Regions from separate parts of the Homo sapiens genome. Here region 2 is linked to region 1. Evidence: promoter capture Hi-C in 16 types of primary human blood cells and fetal thymus (Javierre and others, 2016). All regions are on one chromosome and are shown on one strand. The core of a region is centred on a gene start or on the middle of the fragment in contact, and the rest is flanking DNA. Distances in the headings are between cores, read along the strand shown. Region 1 holds the start of ASB11 (ankyrin repeat and SOCS box containing 11). Region 2 overlaps CA5BP1-CA5B (CA5BP1-CA5B readthrough).

Region 1 (3,327 bases), core at 378-2,877:
AGAAATTCCCATATTTTTGCATAAATCATTTGTTAAGATTTATTAGGCCACTTGTATAACTATATTTTGGCTTGTCTTTTCAATTGATTTTTAAAATTTACAAAATCGAACATAGCCAAGAATGAAGGCAGAGACCTAGAGTGATGAGGAAAACTAAAAATAAACCCATTTCACTTGTGTTGGCCAGCTGATAAGAGAAAATTGCCCAACTAGAGAAGGTTGATTCATGAAATATTTGGGTACTTCATCCAGAACCTAGGGCATCTCTTTTGTCCATTTCACTATGACTCTTCCATGATCAAGGATAGCCCACATTTTTCAGAAATGGGCACCACCTTTACCAATGCTTGAAATGCAAGTGAATGATCAGGAGGGAACCTTGCCATGGGACCTTGTCCCAGATGGAACTACCATGGCGAGTAGTCTGATGCTTCTAGTGTGACACTTACTTGGAGAGGCATCCAAGATAGGCCTTTTATTAAATACAGGCTTGGCCGGGTGCAGTGGCTCACACCTGTAATCCTAGCACTTTGGGAGGCCAAAGTGGGTGGATCACCTGAGGTCAGGGGTTCGAGACCAGCCTGGCCAACATGGCGAAACCTCGTCTCTACTAAAAATACGAAAATTATCCAGGCGTGGTGACGCATGCCTGTAATCCCAGCTTCTTGGGAGGCTGAGGCAGGAGAATCGCTTGAACCCAGGAGGCAGAGGTTGCAGTGAGCCGCGATCGCACCATTGCACTCCAGCCTGGGCAACAGAGTAAGACTCCATCTTAAAACTAAATACATACATACGTGCATACATGCATACATACATACATACAGCTTTAGGGTAAATTGTCTTTTTTTTTTTTTTTTTTGAGACAGAATCTTGCTCTTGTCACCCAGGCTGGAGTGCAGTGGCGCGATCTCGGCTCACTGCAACCTCCGCCTCCCAGGTTCAAGCAATTCTCCTGCCTCAGCCTCCTGAGTAGCTGGGATTACAGGCACCTGCCACCACGCCCAGCTAATTTTTGTACTTTTAGTAGAGACGGGGGTTTCGCCATGTTGGCCAGGCTGGTCGCAAACTCCTGACCTCAGGTGATCCGCCTGCTTCAGCCTCCCAAAGTGCTGGGATTACAGGAGTCAACCACCGCGCCCGGCCAGGTAAATGGTCTTTTTTAACTGGTCATATTTTAGATTTGGATTTAATCCTCTATAAACTTCAGAATTAAGAGAAAATGAAATGCTCCAGGGAGTAGTATTTCCCACTTAGAACATACAGCATATTTGCACTTCTTTTGTATGTCAAATAACTTGCTTTGTTTCTGTGGAAGCCAAGAAGTTTCTATCTTTCCAACCCTGCTTTCTAACATAAAATAGGAAAAATAGGGGTTTAGGAATATAAAATGTTTGGATATGAATCTTATCTGTTAGATAGTACTGAGTTATGTAGTTCTAGAACTATTGGATGTTTCTGGTTAGAAGGAAGTTTCTTTAGTTTATTTAACACTGCTGTGGAGTCAGCACATGCAGTCGCCAAATCAGTTAGATTAGAACCTACAGAGATCTCGGTAACAGGAGCACTGAGTGCTAGAAGGTTTAAAATAGATGTCATATGATACCAATTATAACTCAGTGAAATTTTACAGTCCTAGGACCCTATACAGAGCATAAGCCAAAATGGAAGATGGTCCTGTTTTCTATGGCTTTAAAAACATTTTTATTACAATGTTTGCTACGTTTTTTTTCTTTAAGCTTTTAATTAAAGTTTTTTTGGCTCTCCTAACCCATTTCTATATCGTCAAAGGAAATAGAAAAGAAGCGGCTAGGATAGCAGAAGAGATCTATGGTGGAATTTCAGGTAAAAGTACATGAATTTGTTCCTAATATTTAAAGAAAATCCCTCCTAGATAATTCATATGACTAGTATTTCTGGAAGGCAGATTATATTTATACTTTGATTTTAAGTGGGTAGTTTGAAAAATTGTCACTTAAAGTAGCAAATGCTGTTGGCTGCATCAATTTGTGGAGGATTTTCAGCTTTATTTTTTGCAAGTTCGTAGATCTTGTAGCAGTTGTTATTTAAGAAGTAAATAGGTAGTGGCTTACTAAGAGTATTTTGAGAAACTTCATTTCTACTAGCCAAAGTAATTACTTGTATATAATTATTTTCTTTAATATTTTAAAGCAAACTTTAACAATGAAGGGCATTCTAACCAGACTAAATTCTCTCAGGAAATAGAATGACTAATAAATTATAATTAAAGCAGCAAACGTGGCAAGCTATGTGTATTTTTTTTGCTGTCATTTGCAACTGGAATTGATTAACCACTTGTCACTGTCAGGAAAAGCTCTTCACTAAACCCATTTTATATGGTAGCATGCAAAGCACTCCAAACAAAGTTTATTCTAACATGAAATGCCAAGATTTGGGCAAAACATTTTAAATTCTCATGCTTTGTAGAGAATAGTGTCCATTTCTTTCAAGAAATGATTTACTTTAATTGTGGTGAGATGCTACAAAAGTAAATGAGTCAGATATCCCTGTCACTCCTGGGATTGTCACTTAATAGAGGAGTATTTATTCATAAACAGAGTTCAGAATTTCCCCGTGTATTTTTAGTGTTTGCAGGGGTTCCAGGATTACATCATTCTTTATCTAGTATCCATTTCAATTTGCATCCAGGATTCTCTTTCAAAATAGTCTTATGTGATTCCAATACACTAGACAACTCAGAAGACACTAGACAACAGCAGTCTTATCTAAAGAAATAAGACCTCCAAGGACGAAGCATCAGAATGCTTCAATTAACTGGGGAAAATGAGAAGAATTGTGAAGTTTCAGAACGTATCAGAAGGTCCGGACCATGGAAAGAGATTTCTTTTGGGGATTATATTTGTCACACATTTCAGGGAGGTATGTTACTTTGACTAGTTACAAAAAAAAAAAAAAAAAGTAATGCTTCTGATAAGTTTCAAGTTAAGCATGATCTGAAAAGTTATCTTCTAATTTAATTTGTCAATTTGGGCAAGGGCTTTCTAAAATTTTCAATAATAGTTTTGGTGTTCTCATAGATAAATCATTCTTCTGGTCTAAATTAGATGAAGTCCAACAAAGTCAATATTGGCAAGAACATGTTACAAATGTTTTCTCCTGTTGCACCTGCGCATTATTTCTGTCTTTGTGGTCTTTAATTAAGTGCACTCTTTTTTTTTTTTTTTTTTTTTGAGATGGAGTCTCGCTCTGTAGCCTAGGCTGGAGTGCAGTGGCACCATCTCGGCTCACTGCAACCTCCGCCTCCCAGGTCCCGGTTGAAGCAATTCTCCTGTCTTAGCCTCCTGAGTA
Region 2 (3,327 bases), core at 477-2,976, 360 kb before region 1:
TACTTGGATGGTTAATTTTATGTGCCAACTTGGGTAGGTCATGGTACCCAGATGTTTGGTCAAATACCAGTTTAAATGTCACTGTGAATGTATTTTTTAGATAAGATTAACATTTAAATCAGTAGACTTGGAATAAAGATTATTACCCTTCATGTGGGTGGGCCCTACCCAATCCGTCGAAAGCCTTAAGTTGAAAAAGACAGGTCCCCTGAGGAAGAGGAAATTCTACCTCCAGACTGCCTTTGGACTGGAGCTGTGCCATGGCACCAGTTTGTGCTCACAATCCAGTCTGAATGTGTCCCCAAAGTTCACGTTTTGGAAACTTAATCTGCAACGCAAAAGTGTTGGGAGGTGATTAAATCATGAGGGCCCTCCCCTCATGAATGGATTAATGCCATTATTAGGGGGAGCTGGTTAGTTTCTGAGGTAGTGGGTTCCTGATATAAGGATAAATTTGGCTTCTTTCCCTTCCCTCCCTCCCTCCTTCTTCACCCCCAACCACTCCCACCCCTCACATGCACATGTTCTTGCCCTTCTGCCTTGTGCTATGGGATGATGCAAGAGAGAGCCCTCACTAGATGCTGAGCAGATGCTGGCACCATGCCCTTGGACTTCCCAGCCTCCAGAATCATGAGCCACATAAATTTCTGTTCATTATAAATTATCCAGTGTCAGGTATTCTGTTACAGCACAAAACTGAGTAAGACAGGCTGTAATATCAATTCTTCCCTGGTCTCCAGTCTGCTGGCCTGCACTGCAAATTTCACGAGCCTACATTCACGAGCCAATTTTTAAAAATAAATCTCTCTCTAAACACACACACACACACACACGCACAAGCACACACACAGGCACACCCACACATACATACATACACACACACATATATACACATACACACACACAATTGGTTTTGTTTCTCTGGAGAACACCTAATAAACCTTGCTTCTGGTAATTCCTTGGCTTGTGTCAGCATTAAATCCAATTTTCGTAAGCCATTCTCATCTTGTCTGTGTCCAAATTTCCCTTTTAATTAAGGACACCAGTTATATTGGACTAGTGGTCACCCTAATGACCATAATTACCTTTATACAGACCCAATCTCCATATGAGGTCACATTCTGAGGTACTGGGGCTTAAGACTTAAACGTATATGAGTTTGAGATGGGAGGGTGCAATTGAACTCGTAACAGCCAGTGACACCTAAAGTATGTCTGCGTTGCCTAAAAGGTGCTGACAATTCTCAAACCAAAGTTAAAATCACTTTTGTTTAGTTTTATCTGTGTTTGTGTAAATACAGTTTTTAGTGGGAGTGTGTATGTCAAAATGTCTAAGGAGATGAAAAATCACCTTGTTGAAGCCATGTAAAAAAGTCTGGCTCAGGATTTAAAAGACAGACTGCCAATAAGCTTTCAATATCTTATCTTGATAGTTCCTGCAGCCAGGTAAGAGCATCTGGTTTTTAAATAACTTCACTATCTGAATTCACTTAGCAGGTTTAAACAGCAATAGTCCATGGGTCAACTGAATTTAGAATCTGTTTTCCCCTTATTAGGGCAAACTTCAAACTTGTACAAAAAAATGGTGAGAATAAATCATCTATATATCCAATACTCCATTTCAACAATTACCAGTGTGTGGCTGGATACCGCCTAGGAGAGCTAAGCCTTCTGTGCTACACATCCTTTGCTGTCACTGATTATTCATGTATGCCTTGGATATTACTAACATGTTCTTTTTCTGTTGTTTTGCAGCCTTAGAAATGTGTGAAAAAAGAAAAGATTCTAAAAGTCTTTAAATGTCATTCATAAGTAATGTATTTATTAAATGCCTCATAGCTTGAACTCTGCCTGATTAAGCAACTTATGCGAAAGAGACAGGAAAAGTACTAACAAAAGGTTACAATTATATTGAAAAATTCCTTGATTGGCATCAGATTGACTCTTCATTTTCTCAACTCCTGATTTCAAAAGGAAGCCTGCCTTTTGCAATTTCCTGAAACTTAAATTAGAGATTACGCTGCTATGTCTTAAGAAAGCTTAGCTTCCTCCTCTCACTCACTTCTTCCTTGAGAGTGTGATCCCAATCTGAGGTTGCCAAAGGTTTCAAAATATATTATACCTGATTTGTGTGTTGCAACTAACTGCCCCAGTGTGGCCAGTGACATGATGAATTTCCCTCTTTCCATCAGATTTCCTTAATATTCATATGCAATCACAAGGCACTCAACCTTTATTCCATTGCAACTGTGAGCAGTGGCAGCCTTTTTGCTTGGTTCCAAGCACAGGGCAGCTACGTATAGGCACAGAGAATGGTGCCCTTGCTGTTTCGCCTTTCGGTTAATTCCAGCCCAGGTACTGATTTAAAATAGCCCAGAAAGTTTTTCATTTCCAAAATATTCAAGAACAGTGCAGCTTTTCACTAAGTCCCTGAAGACAGGGGAGGTGGGGTGAACTTTGGTTCATTGTGAACTCTGATGCAGGCTATGAATAGTGACTCCTCTGAGAGATGCGCGGGGCAGCATCTTACCAGAGATTTCTGACTATTCTCCATACTCCAGCAAGACTTTCAAAGTGCATAGTGGAAATGGTCAGATTATCAGTAAAGAAGAAGGGGAAGCAGAAAGCAATGTGGTATTCAGTGGCTAATAAGGAGCATATAAACAAATTAAGGTTTACGCATCTTCGTTAAGTCATTTCCCAAGCTTTTCCAGCAAAAGTAAATGTGAGAGAAGTACACAGATATTAATACTAACGCGTTTCCAGCAGCCTCAGAGCAGCAGCATTTAACGCTGAATATCACACAGAATCCCAGCCACCAAGAATGTCTGCATTTTGGAGGTTCCTCTCCTCCGGCTCTGGGGCAAGGCACAACAGAAAAACTCAGATTTGTCCAAGGGACACAACTGTGCTTTTGATCTACTCTGGGGTGGCTGTGTCTGTCCATAGCCCCTAGCATAGTCAGGTGGGAATATCAACAATGCAGACCCGAGGGAGTCCCAGCTTGCTGCTCCTTGGTTTCTGGACACTCCTCTCATCCCGCAATGTCTCTGGGAAAGCTGTTCTACTTTTTAATAGACAGAATCCTAAAAGGATGTCTGGTGATCCCCATAGCGGAGAAAGAGGGCTAGAGTGGGGAAGTGGCTATTTCCCCGCCGCCAGCCTCCCACTCCCATTCCTCAGAGAAGCCCCGCCAGGGCCCCGGCCAACCTCGCCGCACCAAAAGCTTCTCTGGCTCCAGGGCCGATAGCGGCACGCGGTCATGTTTGCGGCAAGTGGCACAGTTCCTGCCCTCTCAAGCAGACCACGCCCTGCTGCTGCCCACGCT

What was found. Contacts are between HindIII fragments. The CHiCAGO score rates a contact against its expected background, and 5 or more counts as called.
Region 2: a fragment that was not itself captured here is called in contact with the fragment with the promoter of ASB11 in region 1 in 1 of 17 cell types (M0 macrophages); the score reaches 6.0 in M0 macrophages.

The regions. Positions count from the first base shown.
Region 1 is chrX:15,313,940-15,317,266 of GRCh38, reverse strand. ASB11 (ankyrin repeat and SOCS box containing 11) reads left to right here and starts at 1,627. Exons shown (of 7, transcript NM_080873.3): 1 at 1,627-1,842. The coding sequence starts at 1,662. The HindIII fragment of the contact is 9,481 bases long and covers 1-1,738 here.
Region 2 is chrX:15,675,814-15,679,140 of GRCh38, reverse strand. All of the region lies in intron 1 of CA5BP1-CA5B (CA5BP1-CA5B readthrough), which reads right to left. It also overlaps the pseudogene CA5BP1. Among named protein-coding and RNA genes, the nearest start is that of CA5BP1-CA5B, 2.0 kb to the right of the region's middle. The HindIII fragment of the contact is 629 bases long and covers 1,412-2,040 here.